Linked DNA regions of Homo sapiens: regions 1, 2, 3, 4 and 6 are each linked to region 5. Evidence: promoter capture Hi-C in 16 types of primary human blood cells and fetal thymus (Javierre and others, 2016). All regions are on one chromosome and are shown on one strand. Each heading gives the region's core, a stretch centred on a gene start or on the middle of the fragment in contact. The rest is flanking DNA. Distances are from core to core; before and after follow the strand shown.

Region 1 (2,793 bases), core at 74-2,573, 540 kb before region 5:
CTCTTGGAGCAGGGCCCTTATGACTGCATAGGTTGCTGCCCATGAAGCTAGCTAGCCCTGCTGACCTTGTTGCTGGTTTTCCAGGAGTAGATGCCGAGACTGTGCTTGGTGTACAGAGTATTTATTAGGAATCAACATCCGTGGATGAGAGGAGGAGGAAGCAGTCTTGGGCAGAGGGAAAAGTCAAAATGTGATGCAATTGTGACAAAGCTTTGGCCATTCCTATGGGATGTTCTGGACCATACACGGCCCATCAGAGATGCTAGATTAAGCCAAAATGTCTGTGTCTTTATACCTTACTTCTATCAGTCATTGGATGTGAACTGCCCCAACTTTGGGAGGTGGGATTAGCAGAAAGTTTCCAGGTCTCAAATCCTTTAGAGTTTGTTTCAGTTGCAGAGAGCTAACTCAACCAAGGGCATGACCCTCCCAGGCTGAGCAACATCCTGCTTTCTCTTCTGAAGAAAACAGTAGCAAACCAAATCCAGCTCTCTATATATGATAATATATCACAGCCAATAGCTGAGGTCAAGAATAGTAGATTGACCTCGTGTGGTGACTCACGCCTGTAATTCCAGCACTTTGAGGTGAAGGTGGGAGGATCGCTTGAGGCCAGGAGTTTGAGACCAGCTGGGCAACATAGTGAGACTCTGTCTATACAAAAAATTAAAAAAAAATTAACCTGGTATGGTAATGTGTGCCTGTAATCCCAGCTACTTGGGAGGCTGAGGTGGGAGGATCACTTGAGCCTGGGACGTTCAGGCTGCAGTGAGACATCATCGTGCCACTGCACTCCAGCCTGGGTGACAGAGCAAGACCCTGTCTCAAAAAGAAAAAAAAAAAAAAAAGGAAATTGCTTAAACATTAGGGAATCAGAGAATCAGTCACTGATGGATTGATATATATTAACAGAATGATGCATAAAGATACAGATATAGAAAGGTTGAAAATAAAATGATGGAAAAAGATATACTATGTGAACAGTATGAGAAGGAAGCTGGCATAACTATATTAAAATCAGACATAATACTTTAAGGCAAAAATCATTATTAGAGTTAGAATGAGGTTGTTTGTGATGATAGAGGCTCAAATCAAGAGGAATGTTAAAAAGGAAGAGGGATAACTCAAGGGAAGGTCAGCGAAGATTGTGGAGGAAATTGTGTGTTTCCAGGAAGCTCCAGGCTCCTCACATTTTCCCCACCAGCCAGCAGATAGATATTCCATAGTTTAATTTCTTTAGCTTAGTGCTTTATTGTATAGTTAAAATTAAAAAAAAGAAAGCAAGAAAGGAAGGAGCCATCAAGTTATGAAAGGACATTGAAGAAACTTAAATACATATTACTAAGTGAAATAAGTTGTATTAGTCCATTTTCATGCTGCTGAAAAAGACATGTCTGAGAGTGGGTAATTTATAAAGAAAAAGAGGTTTAATTGACTCACAGTTTCACATGGCTGGGGAGGCCTCACAATCATTGCAGAAGGTGAAGGCACATCTTATATGGCAGCAGACAAGAGAGACCTTGTGCGGGGAAACTCCCATTTTTAAAACCATTAGATCTTGTGAGACTGATTCACTATCATGAGAACAGCACTGCAAAGACCCGCAAAAGTCATTATTAGAGATAGAATGGGGTTGTTTGTGATGATAGATGCTCAAATCATTTTTCCCCATGATTCAATTACCTCCCACCGGGTCCCTCCCACAACATGTGGGAATTGTGGGAGCTACAATTCAAGATGAGATTTGGGTGGGGACACAGCCAAACCATATCACTAGTCCGTCTGAAAAGGCTACATAACATATAATTCCAAATATATGACATTCTGGAAAAGGCAGAGCAATGGAGACAGTAAAAAAAAAAGATTTCTGGGTGTTTGGTGAGGGGTAGATGAACAGGCAAAGCACAGAGGATTTTTAGGGCAGTGAAAATACTCTGTCTGATACTATAATGGTGGATACATATTATCATATATTTGTCAAAACCCATAAAATATACCATACTAAGAGGGAACCCTAAAGTAAACTACAGTGATAATGACATGTCAACATAGGTTCATCGATTTTAACAAATGTACCTCACTAGTGTGAGACATTAATAATTGGGAAGCTGTGTGTGTGTGAACATCTTACTTTCTTCTCAATTTTTTGTAAAGCTAAAACTGCTCTGAAAAATAAAACTATTAATTAAAAAAATTAATAGGAGTCTGTGTACAGAGATTCTTTTTGTACAAGGAAAAAAACCAACTCAAATTAAGCCAAAAACAAAAGTAAATGCATGATAGGTCTTGGTCCTGCTGCTTGATGACTTAAATCTAAGGTTATGGCAAAACATCTGAAGCTCATTGCCAGGCTGTGATGGTGCAGGACCCTAAACAGAATGCTCACAATGGAGGGGCTCATGACATTAAGCCACAGAGGCACTATGAGAAGCTTGCCACAGGTGACAGCGACAGAGCTGTGAAACTTGCCTGTGGATCTATAATTTGGAAGTGGCCCACAAGATGAACTCCATGGGAAAGAGTTGGGCAGATAGATACATGGCAGGGCTGCTGAGTCCTGTGTGCAGGACACCCAACACGAAAACCTCATCCATTTTGTGCTGTCGCCTCTTTTCTTCCTCCAAAAACCCATATGATGTATATTTCTCTTACCTTTTTTCCCTGCAGTAAACCTAATCCTATAGATGCAAGAAGGCCTGCATATACAGAAGCAATCCCTGCAGTCAGCAATGGAGCCTCTCTTCTCTTAAGTGACAGAGAAACTGAGTCACAAAGTAGTCTAGGAGTAGAATG
Region 2 (2,745 bases), core at 56-2,555, 570 kb before region 5:
AGGTAAGAATGTGCTCTGGCATCTCAGGAATCTGCAGAGCCTGAGCTCAGACAAACTTTCCCGCCCAGCTCATGTTCTTCCTCACAGTCTGTCTGTCCTAATGATTCACATGATGCTCTGACATTCCTCAGGGCTAGAAAATTTTCCAGGTCCCGTCTTAGGGAGTCTAGCTCAGGAATTAAACATACCCTGGGGTCAGGGGTACCAGCCACCACTTTAGCTGTAGGAAGACCTCTGCATCCTCATCTATAAAATGGGAATAATCACGGTGCCTTAGAGATACATATTAGCTGTTATCAGCTGGTATTAGGAGTATATGAGTAACAGAACCTCTGCTAGGTGGGTGAGGACAGGAGGTACAACTCTAGTTGACTGATTTTGCTACTGATGAACTTGTCTGGGGAGCCAGCCAGCTGAGGCTGATGGCAGAAAATAGATTTTTGGTTTATCAGAGCAAATAATCTGCTCTAGTAATTATAGGCCCACATTTATTATGAGTAAAAGAACATTGAGGGCAGATTCTATGAGAATCTTAGATAACAGCGCCAGGCCCCATTGCTGGGACTTCCTAGAAGCTTTGGGAATTTTCATACTAAAGGTGGAGAACCCTGTGGGTTGAAACCTTCAACAAGGACTATCTCCAGAAACAAATCTGAACTCGGCTCCAGAAAGCAAGGTTTTGGACAATTCAGCTACTCCAGTTCATTTTACTTAAATGAGCGTTACAACTGTGATACCATGGTGAGCTTGTCTTGCAAACACTGAGAATGCCCTGGTACTATAACTTCCTTCAGCAGCGAGCATTAGAGTTTCCTCTTTCTTTACACTGAGTCACCTTCCCTGGTTCCTGAACCTCACAGAACTGATGTCTCAGTGCTGTCATTGGTCTGGGGGAGTCCTCCCACCTAGTCCTCTGCCCAGAGTGTATTTCGTGAACCACTGGTAATGCTGGCTCCAGGAGGTGCATACCAAGGGGTGGCTGACATCCAGAAGCCCCCTGGTCCTCCTAGTGGCAGCATCTCTGTAACCTCAGCAACTAGCCCTGTGCAGGGGACACAGGAGGCCTCATTTGTGTGCCCCAGCATGGGGCTGAGGGTAGAATCATTGCCCGCTAGGGCCAAGAAATTCCATGGAGCTTCTCTGCAAATAGAAATTGCCAAGCTGCTTGGGAAGGGAGAGAAGCCACAGGTTGTCCCTCATCTCTTCCACCCACAGCCTTACAGACAAGATCCCCCAGCTTGCTCTGAATCTATCACTTACCCAGGGCTCCTTGGCAGATGTCTGTGCGGGTGGCTCCTCCAATGATAAACTGGGGGTCAGCGCAGATCTCCTGGGAACGAGACCCACAAAGTGCTGTTAGCCTACCAGCCAGGTGCTTCTGCAGCTAGGATGCCTCCATTCTCAGTGGGGTCTTCTAACCCCTTCTCCCCTTCCCCTCCCCTCTGGGGAAAGTGTGTCATCACAGTCAGAACTCTGTGTCATGAGGTCCTTCTGACCCCTGCTCCCTGGGCCCTGATGGGTGGATGGGTGGTCCTGTCTGAGAAGGGCAGGCATTGGACCCTGCACACTCTGGACTGCCTGGAGCCTCCTTCATTGTGCTGTGTCCCGGGGGCCACAGCAGCAAGTCCAGCCTTTTCTGCCAGACGTGGAGACCATCCACACTCTAGAGCCACCCTATCCACTGGGTTAGCATCCTCTCTCCTCTGTTACTGCATGCAAGTTGTTTTGCTTGCATGAAATTCCTTCCTTTCCCACTCTCTTCCCTCCTTTTCCATATTGCATCATACCTTGAGGCTCATTGTCACCTCCTCCGTGAAGTCGTCCTAGTCCAATCCTCACTCATCCCTTCAAGTCTGAGTCCCAGAGTCTCTGGACTCTGCAATTTACTACTTAGGTATTACTCTGATTTCCTAACACATACCCTTTTGAGGGCAGGCGGGATCTAACCCTTTTGAATTCTTCCATGGGACCATGAAACTTACAGCATCTATATATTCTGTACCTGCTTACATCAGAGACTGTGCTCAAAGCTTTACCTCATGGAATGGGTATTATCCCCCTTTTACAGACGAGGAAACAGCTCAAAAAGGTGAAGTGACGTGTCCAAAGTTAACACAGTTCACAGATAATAGACAGCACTGGCATTGGAACTTACTGATCAAATGCGCCAACTCTTTCTGCTCCTGCCCTGCCTCTAATTGATTTAGTACCAAGCGTTCAAGGGTGTTAAAACCTCAGGGGCCATTGTCATGAGCAGCCTGATGGAAGCCAACCTTGAACACTTCTTAGCCCTTTCAGCAGCCCTCTGAGTGTGTTTCGATTCTGAAGAGCCCCACCCAAAAGCCACAGAGGAAGTTGGGGCACAAATTTGAGCCTCTCTGGGCTCAGGCAACCTTGCCTTGAAGGAGCTGCGTCTCATGTCTGCTTGGGTTGCACACGCCTGCCTCCACCCAACGGCCCTCGGCATGCCCACTCTGTCAAGCAGAAGTATGCCTATATGAGACTTGGATCTAGCCCCTGTTCATTCTAGCTCAGATTGTGGGAGCTCTTCCGGAAGCACCATCTGCCGCAGAGGACATTCCCTTCATGCCTCTGCCTTGTTTCTCTCTGCTCCTGTCAGTTTTGGGGATGGCAGAGAGAATCAGAATGCTCTTCTGCTGAGGCAAAGGAAGCCAGCTTGGCCCAAGGCCTGCCAGAGAGCTCTTATCCAGCTGATGGAATAGATTGGGCTTGGTGCTGGGAGCC
Region 3 (2,700 bases), core at 196-2,695, 530 kb before region 5:
CCAGGAAATTCCAGGGATTTAGGAGCTCTGTCAGGAACTAGAGTCAAAGACCAAATATTACAACAAAAGATGCTCCTAGCACATTTATCACCCAGGAAATTACAAAGATTTTAGAAGCTTTGTGCCAGGAACTGAGGACAAAGACCAAAATACTTATTTCTTATTAAATCACAAGATCACAAGAGGTATCCTGGCTGTGTCTTCCCTTCCTCCACACTCATCCCCAGCCTCTGGGACTCACAGAGGAGGTAAACTTGGGAACTCCTCTCCCTACCTGCCCAGCCCCAGTGCCACTACCTGAATTAAGCCATCATCGATTCTTGCTTGTTTCAGAGCAACTGCACCCTAACTATAGAGAAGAAGTCCACATCCATTTAGGATGGCATTCAAGGCCCCCAGTGTCTTTTCCTCTTGTTGTTTGCCTCCTGCCTCACTCCAGGAGTGAGTGATCTAGAATGATCTCATTCTAGATAATTAATATTCTGTTGGCACTGTGTGCAGAGCTGTTCCTTCTTGCCATTTTCTTGCTGTTCCCCTTGACTCCAATGCCCTTTTTACACTGCCTTCTTTCAAAATCATCATCCTTCAAGCACCTTATCCTACAGATCTAACTGGAAGGCCACCTCTTCCATGAAGCCCTCCTTATCACTCATCATCCTCAGAATCAACCACTCTTTCTTTGAGCATTGCCTGGTCTTTCCACTGCATGGAAGTTCTTTGTGGGCAGGCATGGTGTCTATTTGTCTTTCGATTTTTTCTTTTCTTTTCTTTTTTCTTTTTCTTGAGACAAGGTCTTGCTCTGTCACCTAGGCCAGAGTGCAGTGGCGCGATCTCAGCTCTCTGAAACCTCCACCTCCTGGGTTCAAGCAATTCTTCTGCCTCAGTCTCTTGAGTAGCTGGTATTACAGGTGCCTGCCACCATGCCTGGCTAATTTTTTGAAATTTTTATAGAGATGGGGTTTCACCACGTTGCTCAGGCTGGTCTGGAACTGCTGGGCTCAAGTCATCTGCCTGCCTTGTCCTCCCAAAGTGCTGGGATTGCAGGCCTGAACAAATGCGTCTGGCCTCTATTTGTCCTTTTATCCTCCTACGAGCATTGACCCCTGCCCAGTGGAGTGTTGGCACAGAGACGGCTTGCAGATCTGAGTGAGGCTTGCAGATCTGAGTGAGGCACAGAGATGGCTTGCAGATTGGAGGGCTGAGTGAGTCATTGGATTTCTTCCTTTTAGGCATCACATCTCACAGCCTACTGCCCAGGTCGCATCTCCCTGTTGGTATGTGTGGGTAGCGTGCCTTAAAAAGAGCATGGGAATTAAAATCAGAAGACTTGGGCTCAAGTTTGCTACTTGAGTGACCTTGGGGTAGCCTGACAATATGATCTTTCTTACAGACTTGTCGTGAATCTCTAAGCAGCCATGGCAGGAAAGTGCTATGTAGACCTTGCATTCTATTCAAATGTGAGTTTTTGCCACATTACTTAGTCATACCAGGTCAACAGGATCTGTAGGCCTCTAGGGGGCAGTCTCAGCTGGCCTCCCAACTGGCCTTGACTGAGCCCTTTCCTGCCAGGATGAAGGCCTGAGCTGTGACCCCTAAGATGCCATGAGCGATCCTGCAGACCTGGAGAGAGAATGAGCCCACACATCTCAACTCATCCAGGCTTCTGGTTAGGTAGGGTTTGCTCTTACAGCTCTAGAACTGTTTGCATGTGCTGGGCACTTGATATCCTGGGCAGATGGGAAGCCAATCTCTTCCTTAGAGGCCACCTACCAATGCTTGTATCATAGCCAGCCTTCCCCTCTGTAATGCCTTTTTTTCTCCTTTTCAATTTTAAAATTGAGATATAACTCACATAACATAAACATCGCCAAAGTGTACATTTAAAGTGTGATATTTATTTATTTATTTGAGACAGGTCTCGCTTGCTCATCCAGATGAGAGTACAGTGGTGCAACCATAGCCCACGGCAGCCTCAACCTCCTGGGCTCAAGCGATGCTCCCAGCTCAGCTTGACAAAGTGCTGGGATTGCAGGTGTAAGCCACTGTGCCTGGCCTAAAATGTGACTTTTGGTTGTGCAACTATCACCACCATCTCATTCCATAATAATTTCATCACCCCAAAAAAGAAACCTTGTAACTATTAGAGTCAGCCCCACTTCCCAATCCTTGGCAACCACGACTCTGCTTTCTTTCCCTATGGCTTTGCAATTCTAGGCATTTCATAAAACTGGAATTATACAATGTATGGCCTTTTGTCATTCGCTTCTTTTACTTTGCATGTCTTTAAGATCCGTCTATGTTGTAGCATGTAACAGTATCTCGCTCCTTTTATGGACTCCTTTTATGGCTGAATAATATTCCATCATATGCATATACCACATTTTGTTTATCCATTTGTCCATCGATGGGCATTTAGGTTGTTTCCACTTTTTGGCTATTATGAATAATGCTCCTATGGGCATTTATGTACACGTTTTTGTGTAGACATATGCTTTCAATTCTCTTTCAATCCTTGAAGTGGGATGTTACTCAGAGTTACTGTGTAATTCTATGTTTAGCATTTTGAGAAACTGCTGGACTGCTTTCCAAAACAGCGGCACCATTTTACATTCCCACCAGCAATGTATGAGAACTCTGTAATCCTCTTGACACTGGATTCAACCCCTGCTTGCCTTAGCATTCTGAAACTGTCAGGCCCAG
Region 4 (2,851 bases), core at 167-2,666, 690 kb after region 5:
GTCCAAAACCCAGCAGGGCAGTCATTAAAACTTAAAGCTCCAAAATAAACTCTTTTGACTCCATGTCTCACATGCAGGTCACATTGGTGTGAGGAGTGCTCTCCCCAGGCCTTGGGCAGCTCTGCCTCTATGACTTTGCAGGGTTCAGCCTCCATGGTTGCTCTCACAGGGTGGCATTGACTGTGGCTTTTCCAGGCACATAGTGCAAGCTGTTGGTGGCTCTAACATTCTGGGGTCTGGAGGACGGTGGCTCTCTTTGTGCAGCTCCACTAAGCAGTACCCCAGTGGGGACTCTTTGTGGAGGCTCCAACTCAACATTTCTCCTTCATACTGCCCTAGTAGAGGTTCTCCATGAGGCTTCTGCCCCTGCTGCAGGCTTCTGCCTGGACATCCAGGCTTTTCTATATATCCTCTGAAATCTAGGTGGAGGCTCCCAAGCCTCAATCCTTGCACTCTGTGCACCTGCAGGCTTAATATCACATGGAAATTGCCAAGGCTTATGACTTGCACCCTCTGAAGCAGTGGCCTGTACTATATCCCTTTGAGCCATGCCTGAAGTTGGAGTGGCTGGGATGTGGAGAGCAGTGTCCTGAGGCTGCATAGGGCAGCAGAGTCCCCGGGCCTAACCCATAAAAGCATTCTTTCCTCCTAGGTCCCTGGGCCTATGATGGGAGGGGCTGCTGCAAAGGTCTCTGAAATGCCTTTGAGGCCTTTTCTCCATTGCCTTGGCTATTAGCACTTGGATCCTTTATATTTATGCAAATTTCTGCAGCCTGCTTAAATTCCTCCCTGAAAACGGGCTTTTCTTTTCTACCACACAGCCAAGCTGCAAATTTTCCAAACTTTTATGCTCTGTTTCCCATTTAAATATCAGTTCCAACTTCAGGTCATTTCTTTGCTCATACATATGAGCATAGGCTGTTAGAAGCAGCCAGGTCACATCTTGAACACTTTACTGCTTAGAAATTTCTTCTGCCAGATATCCTAAATTACCACTCTCAAGTTCAAAGTCCCACAGATCTCTAGAGCAGGGGCATAATGCAGCTAAGCTGTCTGATAAGGCATAGCAAAGGTTACCTTTACTCATTCCCAATAAGTTCCTCATTTCCATCTGAGACATCTTCAGGCTGGACTTCACTGTCCACGTCACTGTCAGCATTTTAATCACAACCATTAAACAACTCTCTAGGATGTTCCAAACCTTCCCTCAACTTCCTGTCTTCTAGCCCTCCACATTCTTCCAACCTCTGCCTATTTCCCAGTTTCAAAGTTGCTTTCACATTTTTGGGTATCTTTATAGCAATATCCTACTCCTGGTACCAATTTTCTGTATTAGGCTATTCTCATATTGCCACAAACAAACACCCAAGATTGGGTAATTTATAAAGAAAAGAGGTTTAATTGGCTCATGGTTCCACAGACTGTACAGGAAGCACAATGCTGGCATCTGCTTGGCTTCTGGGAAGACCTCAGGAAACTTACAATTATGGCAGAAGGCAAATGGGGAGCAGATATGTCTTCACGGTAGGAGCAGGAGCAAAAGAGAAAGAGAAGGGAGGTGCCACATACTTTTAAACAACCAGATCTCATGAGAACTCAGTATCTTGAGGACAGTACCAAGGGGGAAATCTGCCCCCATGATCCAATCCCACCTCACACCAGGCCCCACCTCCAACATTGGGGATTACATGAGATTTGGGTGGGGACACAGATCCAAACCATGGCAAAAAGCTACCCAAGTGATTTTAATGTGCAGCCAGAGTTGAGTACCATTGCTCTGACAAAATTTTTTATCTTATATATGAACAAGAAGAGACTTCAAGAGCTTAAGTAACTGACCCCAAATAAAGGCCATACAGTCAATTACTGGCCAAGACTCTGGCCCGCTCTATTCCCCTATTGGAAAACCTCCACAGCAGTCACACTTTGGGTCAATTTCTTACAGAGGATAGCTACAGTCTTTATGTCTTTAAATCTAAATCTAGATATATTATTTGAATAGTGCTAGCATACTCTGGCAGAACTTTTGAGAGTGAGGACTGTTCCAGAACTATCTGTGCTATGTGACCTCAGGATCTGGAGGTGGTGACAGGCTCAGATTTTACAGTCAGGAAAGTCTGGTTTCAAATGGTAGTTCAGCCACTGACAGCTCTGCACCCTTGGCCAAGTTACTTGGCATCTCTGATCTTCAGTTTCCTTGTAATGTGAATGTTTTGTCAACACAGACTGGTTTCTTGGTTGTGAAGACTAAATAAGATAAGGCCATAAAAGTCTCAGCACGTAATTAGTGCCTTTTAGGAAGCCGATGACTTATCCATTAGCTGGTGGTGCAATTTTACCTTTTAAATGATAGCAGTACTAGTAATTATTACTGTTGTTGTTCTTCTTATATTCCATGTATTTGCCTTCCAGATAGGTGGTTCTTAAGCAGAGGTGATTTTGTACCCCCAGGAAACATTTGGCAATGTCTATAGGTATTTTGATTGTTATAACAGGGGTGGAGGTTTGGGGACAGTGGTGGGGTGCCAGTGACACCAGTGGGTAGAGGCCAAGGATACTACTAAATGCTCATAATGCGCAGGCAGCCTCCCAACAACAAAGACCTATCTGACCCGATGGTGCGAAGGTCAAGAGACTCTGCTGTAGATATCTGTAAGTAATTGGGAGCTTGAGGGCCCAGAGCCACTGGGTGGTGACAGGATGATAATTCTCAATTTTTGCTATTGTGTGGCAAGGGGGCAATGTGTTTAGGGGGTTGCAAACAGCTCCATGTCTACTCTCAATCACCACAGAGGAAGGACTTTCCAACTCTTTACATATGAGTTGCTGTGGTAACCGGTAAGTAATAACC
Region 5 (2,700 bases), core at 146-2,645:
TTGGGAGTTCCTGGGAGGCCATAACACCGTCTGGAAGGCTCCTCTCTCCCACATATTCACAAAGTTGCATGATAAGCCAGGCCCCTGCTGGTCTTGCAGCATCCACCTATGATGCAGAGTAAACAGTGCCACACGTCAAGCTGTCCCCAACCTTGCCCTCGGTTCCACTACCAAAAGAGGGAACACTGGGCTTGCCCCAGCAAGGTGTTATTTATGTCAGGCTAGGGCCACTGTGGCTCCCAGCTCTTACTGCTTTCTAGGTGCCCTTACAGACTTCCCCACTGCCCCCTGCATATGCCAGAGTGTGAACATCCCCTCCCTCTCCACAGCCCCCACAGTGGGGTTCGGGTGGGCAGGGAGGTGGTTTCATCCCTCTACATACAGCCCTTGGAGACCTACCTAGGCAATTTGTCACTCAGGCTTCAAGCTGCCAGCCGAGGAGGGGAGCTGAGAAGACTCTATAATGAGATCTTTGCACTGTAATTAAGTGCCAGGCTTTGTTTTACACCTATCTTTCCCGCCTTGCCCGATCCCACCGCCAAGCTCCTCCAGGCAGTGAGTGGGGAGTGTCAGCTGCTCTGTGATTACACCCCAAGTGGCAGGTGGCAGGGAGCTCCTCCGCCTGCAGTCTGCGCCCCACCCCCAGGCTTCCCCCACCACCAGTCTTAACTCAAGACAGTGCTATTTCTGTCCTTGAACTGGGTTTCACCCCAGAAAGCCACTCCACCGCTTTCTCATAAGGCTACCTCCTTTTAACCCTGTGGTTGCACGGCCTCTGGGGTGTCCATTTCTTTCTTTTGACACGTCCCTTTTCCTGAAAGTTTCAGCAAACCCCATAGGCAGAGGGAGTTAGAAAAAGGAAAAGAGAAGTTAGGGCAGGAGGAGCACTGTTCTTATAGGACAGGAAGGGTCTGTCTTCTCTCTTGGGTCCTCCACACAAAATCGGAGCTTCCAAACACCCCAGCTCCCAAACATATGCAGCAGATTCTGCTGACAGGAATGTGTCACTGTGATCTTCACATTTTAGCCTGAAGTTTAGCCTACCTGAAGAAGCACCGGAGTGGGAGTGGGAGAACATGGGATGGTGCTTCTCTTTGGCCTGGCTGTGCTTTTGGACACTTCAGGTCTTCGGCCTGGGTTTCCTCCTCCGTACGATGAGGAGAGGATGGGAGGGGGCAATGCTGGCATGTGTGATCTCGATAGACACTGTGGAAGTCTGCAGAGACCGGAGCATAACCTCTGCCTCCTCTCCCCGGGCCTAGCCTCTCACAGCCCTCAGAGAAAACCCTGAGCTGCGGCGTGGCCGAGACGGGGGCGTGGCCTGGCAGGTGGGCGGGCCCTTCCGTGGGCGGGGCCGCGAGGTTTTCAGGAGCCCGAGCGAGGGCGCCGCTTTTGCGTCCGGGAGGAGCCAACCGTGGCGCAGGCGGCGCGGGGAGGCGTCCCAGAGGTGAGCGCCCTGCAGCGGCAGGGGATGGGCCGGGGGCCCTAAGTCGTAGGCAGCGCGGGGCGGGGACGCGGCTGCCTGCGGAGGTCGGACTCCTCTCCGCCCTCCTCCCGGGCTGTCCGGGTCTATTTTCCAGTCTATGTCCAACTCGCGCCGCCTCACTAGGCGGCGCTCTCTGCCCCGCGGCACCCGCGAGACGTGGGGTCCCTCGGCCCAGGGACGGGGTGAGCGTGTCATGTGGGTGCCCTGTGCCCGGCAGGTTGGAGACGAAGAGACCTCGGCACAGACGAAGTCACTCACATCCTCGCTTTGAAACAGAGCGGGTCCTTCTTGTGCTGTCTCGCTGTCACTCTCGCCCCCACCCTGTGGAAGAGGCAGGTGGCTTGTCCCCAGTCACTTTCTTCCTTGGAAAAGGGAGACAGAGGGCCATCTCCAGCAGGGCCATGGAAATCCCAGAAAGTCACTGAGCTGCTCAACAAAAGGCCCTAAACACCCCACCCCACAGCACCAGGCAGTGCACACTGGCCAAGACTCCGTGGTAAATATTGCTGGCCTTTATGTTGAGAGGGGGAAAAAAAAGCCTGCCTGTGAAGATCATTGCCCAGTGGCCATGCTCCTGTGAAAACACAATTGGAAAGCCATTTCCTAAGGGGCGAGGGTGGGTCTGGGACCATGCTGTGGCTTGGGTGATTGGTGGTTGCAGGAGTGAGGGTGCTGCCCTGGGAAGGCGCTGAGGCCCTGTTGGGTGGGAATCGACGGCTGCGGCTTTCTCCCGGAGGAGGGAGAGCGGTGTTGTTACCTAGTGTTGGGAACACATCCGTCCAGCACCGTGAACTGCAAACAAGCAGAGTAACCCTAGTGTCCTTCAGATACTGTTGCTGAGCAGTCACCTAGTCAATGAGATGATCTGTTTGGACGGCAAGTGCATCTGTAATGCCGCCCTCTTGCTCAGTGCCTGGAAGAGGCATTGGTGACTCCCCGCTAATGCTAGGGGTAGCTACCGTGCAGGAGCAGTCAGGCTCTTGCAGGGCCAATGTGGTTTCATCAATTTTCTCCTGCATTTACCCAGCCCCTCCGAATTCTGAGAAGTGCGTCCAAGATCTCTTGGACTCCTTGACTCAGTTCACCCTTGTTCTTGTGGGCAGAAAACAATTCCCAGTGTGCCATGCACAGCCAGTCAGAAGGGAAGCCCTGGAGCAGGGCCCTGGGAGAAGTTCTGTGGGGCTGGATGCTAATTATTCAGTTACTGGATTGTG
Region 6 (2,700 bases), core at 157-2,656, 600 kb before region 5:
CCTACCCCGTTCAAATGCTTGAACGCCGAGAATACCAGAGAAAAGGCGGAATGCAACCCTCTCGCGGAACGAGCACAGGCATTCCCGTGTGAATAGCGCATCCACGGATTTCTGCAGGCTGGGAAGGGCGGGAAAGGGCGCACGGCCGAGAGAGGGCTGGAGGGGGTCCTCGATGGCGCAGGGAAAGGGCGCACGGCCGAGAGAGGGCCGGAGGGGGTCCTCGATGGCGCAGGGCTGATACCCAGACAGCCTTGAGTGGCCCAGGGACACTGAGCACACCCTCGCCCCACCACCAGCCCATGCTCCGTGGTCTGGCCCAGCCCAGCTGTAGGGTTTATACTAGGACGGTTGTTTATTCCGGTCTGAGTCAGAATTTGCTTCTGTTTTAAGAACGCCTCACAGCCTCTCCTTTCCCCTATCTATTCTGATGAAGGTTGAGCCTGGGAAGAAGGGCTGGAGCAGAAAGGGTCTTCTGCCTCAACGTGTTCTGCTGATAAACTTTGAGAATTCCTGCCTAGGGAGTCTGACCTAGATTTTGGCTCCAAAAGCCAGGGCTTCTTATCTCTGTCCCCCGCAGAGACCAGAACCTGGATGGGACAGGGCTCAGAGGTTGGGCACAGCCTTTGCTCCAAGGCTCCTGGGCACAGTGCCCACCTCCCATCCCCTGGTGAGCGTTGCCAGCAAGGCTATTATGAGGAAATCTTTCCTCCTCTTCCTTCCGAAGTCTCCCACGGGCCTATTAGCTCTGCAAGAGTGCAGGGGAAGGCTGCACAGCACTGCAGATGGAGGGGAAGGTGGCAGGGGCAGCAGGTGGCAGGGGCTCCCAGGGAACCTGTGGTCAGAGGGGTGGGGGTGATTCAGAGCAGGCTAAGAGTGGGAAGTGGACTGAAGACAGAAGGGCTGGAGGCACCATCACCCCATCCATTACACCCCAGACAGCTTGACTTTTGCCTAGCAACCCTTGGCTTCCAGGTGATGAGCAATAATGGTAGACACTGGGGTGCTCAGAAACCAATACCTCTAAGAGATGGCACTTTGAAATGCTAAACTGAAGAAGCCTCAAGATCTCTCTGACCTCCCCTTTCCTTCTGTCTCTCGATCCACTCTCCCCCAAAGCACAGGAGGAAGCTATTCTCTGAAGTTCCCTCACCTGCCTAAAGTCTGGACCTGCCAAAGATGAAAACAATGACGTCTGGTCCTTTCCATGAGTTATTATGAACTGAACTCATATTGCAGGAAGAAAGACAAGTCTGTCAACATGGCTAGACAGACTTGTCACAAACCACTGTCTGCTCTGCAGGCCCAACAGACTTTATCCCAGACCATTTATGTTCTTTAAGCCCAATGAATTCCCCTAAAAATCATTTACGACATCCCTAAAATCATCCGCACCTCCCCATCTCCCTTCCCCTAAGAGGAAGGGAATATAACCCTCTGTATCCCAATGCGTGGTAGGGAAATCTCTTGTGATTCTCCCCTGTCCACATTCATACATTTGTATGCCATTTCTTGTATTAGTCTTCCTTTTGCCAGTTGATTTTCAGCGGACCTTCAGAGGGTGGAGGGAGGTTTTCCTTTGGCCCCTACGTGGACGAGGGCTGCATTACGTTGTACACAGGAGCAGTGGGTTCCCTTGGGCACTGTGGGAGCCTCCCTTCAGCAAGAGCAGATGGGGTGAGGCTAGGGAAGGCAGCCTGGACTTACGTCGATGGAGCAGCCAAGGAGAGAGCCTTTTTGCAGAGCTTTCTGGATGATCTTGAACAGGTTGGGAGGGGGCTTCTTCAACTCATACCACTCAGCAATGCCTCCGGTGAAGTCTTCGAAGCCCTCAGTGGTGGCACCCCCTGATAGCGCTTCATAGCATCCGTTGATCCTACAAGAGGGGATTAGACGCTGCCGCTACCCTTGACACTACTGATGCTATAATCTCTCAAACAGCCACCCCCTAGTACCGTCTAGATTTGATGCTCCAGGGACCCCCTGCTCACATTCTCCTTGGCCTTGTTCCCAGCTCGGGGTGCTCAGGAAGGCAAGGTATAATGTCCACAGTTACCATTTCCCTGGTATTTTGTGTTTTAAAGAAAATCTCAGGCCGGGCGCGGTAGCTCATGCCTGTAATCCCAGCACTCTGGGAGGCCGAGGTGGGCGGATCACTTGAGGTCAGGAGTTCAAGACCAGCCTGGCCAACATGGCAAAACACCATCTCTACTAAAAATACAAAAAAATTAGCTGGGCATGGTGGTGCATGCCTGTAGTCCCAGCTACTTGGGAGGCTGAGGCAAAAGAATTGCTGAAACTCAGAACGTGGAAATTGCAGTGAGCTGAGATCATGCCGCTCACTCCAGCCTGGGTGACAGAATGAGGCTCCGTATTAAAAAAAAAAAAAAAAAAAAAGATTCTCGTAGAACCTTAGAGTCGGAAGGACCTTAGTGATTTTCTGGATGAACCTCCTGTATTGATTCCTTCTACATCCTGACAAGAAAGGGGAGGTCTACTAATGGGTCGTTTGGCATTGATAGCTTAAAAAAGGACAACCATTCAATAATGGAAGCAGTTTCTCTGAGAAACAGGCACGGTGTTGGCAAGGGCTTAGTGCTCCTGACTGCTGATGCTGGAGTCCGGTGGCTTCCCTGACCCCAGTATTGAGCAGTGGGACTTAGAAGCATCCGTCAGGCTCCAGGTTCTCACAGCTGACTCCTC

What was found. The method cuts DNA at HindIII sites, captures the fragments that hold promoters and counts their contacts. A CHiCAGO score of 5 or more calls a contact.
Region 1: a fragment that was not itself captured here is called in contact with the fragment with the promoter of TLR5 in region 5 in 15 of 17 cell types (naive CD8 T cells, total CD8 T cells, megakaryocytes and 12 more); the score reaches 21.1 in naive CD8 T cells.
Region 2: a fragment that was not itself captured here is called in contact with the fragment with the promoter of TLR5 in region 5 in 2 of 17 cell types (naive CD4 T cells and non-activated CD4 T cells); the score reaches 5.8 in naive CD4 T cells.
Region 3: a contact is called between a fragment that was not itself captured here and the fragment with the promoter of TLR5 in region 5, in 12 of 17 cell types (endothelial precursors, M1 macrophages, naive CD4 T cells and 9 more). The highest score is 14.6, in endothelial precursors.
Region 4: a fragment that was not itself captured here is called in contact with the fragment with the promoter of TLR5 in region 5 in 1 of 17 cell types (total B cells); the score reaches 6.2 in total B cells.
Region 6: a contact is called between a fragment that was not itself captured here and the fragment with the promoter of TLR5 in region 5, in 1 of 17 cell types (naive CD8 T cells). The highest score is 7.6, in naive CD8 T cells.

Annotation. Positions count from the first base shown.
Region 1 is chr1:223,686,133-223,688,925 of GRCh38, reverse strand. The region is part of intron 2 of LOC105373281 (a long non-coding RNA gene); the gene reads left to right. Among named protein-coding and RNA genes, the nearest start is that of CAPN8, 22 kb to the right of the region's middle. The HindIII fragment of the contact is 2,221 bases long and covers 213-2,433 here.
Region 2 is chr1:223,716,347-223,719,091 of GRCh38, reverse strand. It overlaps CAPN2 (calpain 2), which reads right to left. Exons shown (of 21, transcript NM_001748.5): 2 at 1,261-1,330. Among named protein-coding and RNA genes, the nearest start is that of CAPN2, 5.2 kb to the right of the region's middle. RefSeq lists enhancers at 1-333, 499-668. The HindIII fragment of the contact is 1,455 bases long and covers 578-2,032 here.
Region 3 is chr1:223,669,478-223,672,177 of GRCh38, reverse strand. No RefSeq gene overlaps it. Among named protein-coding and RNA genes, the nearest start is that of CAPN8, 5.1 kb to the right of the region's middle. The HindIII fragment of the contact is 2,651 bases long and covers 120-2,700 here.
Region 4 is chr1:222,455,756-222,458,606 of GRCh38, reverse strand. No RefSeq gene overlaps it. Among named protein-coding and RNA genes, the nearest start is that of TRT-TGT2-1, 7.8 kb to the left of the region's middle. The HindIII fragment of the contact is 5,503 bases long and covers 1-2,851 here.
Region 5 is chr1:223,141,943-223,144,642 of GRCh38, reverse strand. TLR5 (toll like receptor 5) reads left to right here and starts at 1,395. Exons shown (of 6, transcript NM_003268.6): 1 at 1,395-1,447. It overlaps LOC124904522 (a long non-coding RNA gene), which reads right to left and starts at 1,288. Exons shown (of 2, transcript XR_007066895.1): 1 at 1,045-1,288. RefSeq lists a silencer at 1,237-1,606. The HindIII fragment of the contact is 3,848 bases long and covers 1-2,700 here.
Region 6 is chr1:223,746,170-223,748,869 of GRCh38, reverse strand. CAPN2 (calpain 2) reads right to left here. Exons shown (of 21, transcript NM_001748.5): 5 at 1,705-1,873. Among named protein-coding and RNA genes, the nearest start is that of CAPN2, 35 kb to the right of the region's middle. RefSeq lists a silencer at 469-763. The HindIII fragment of the contact is 6,197 bases long and covers 1-2,700 here.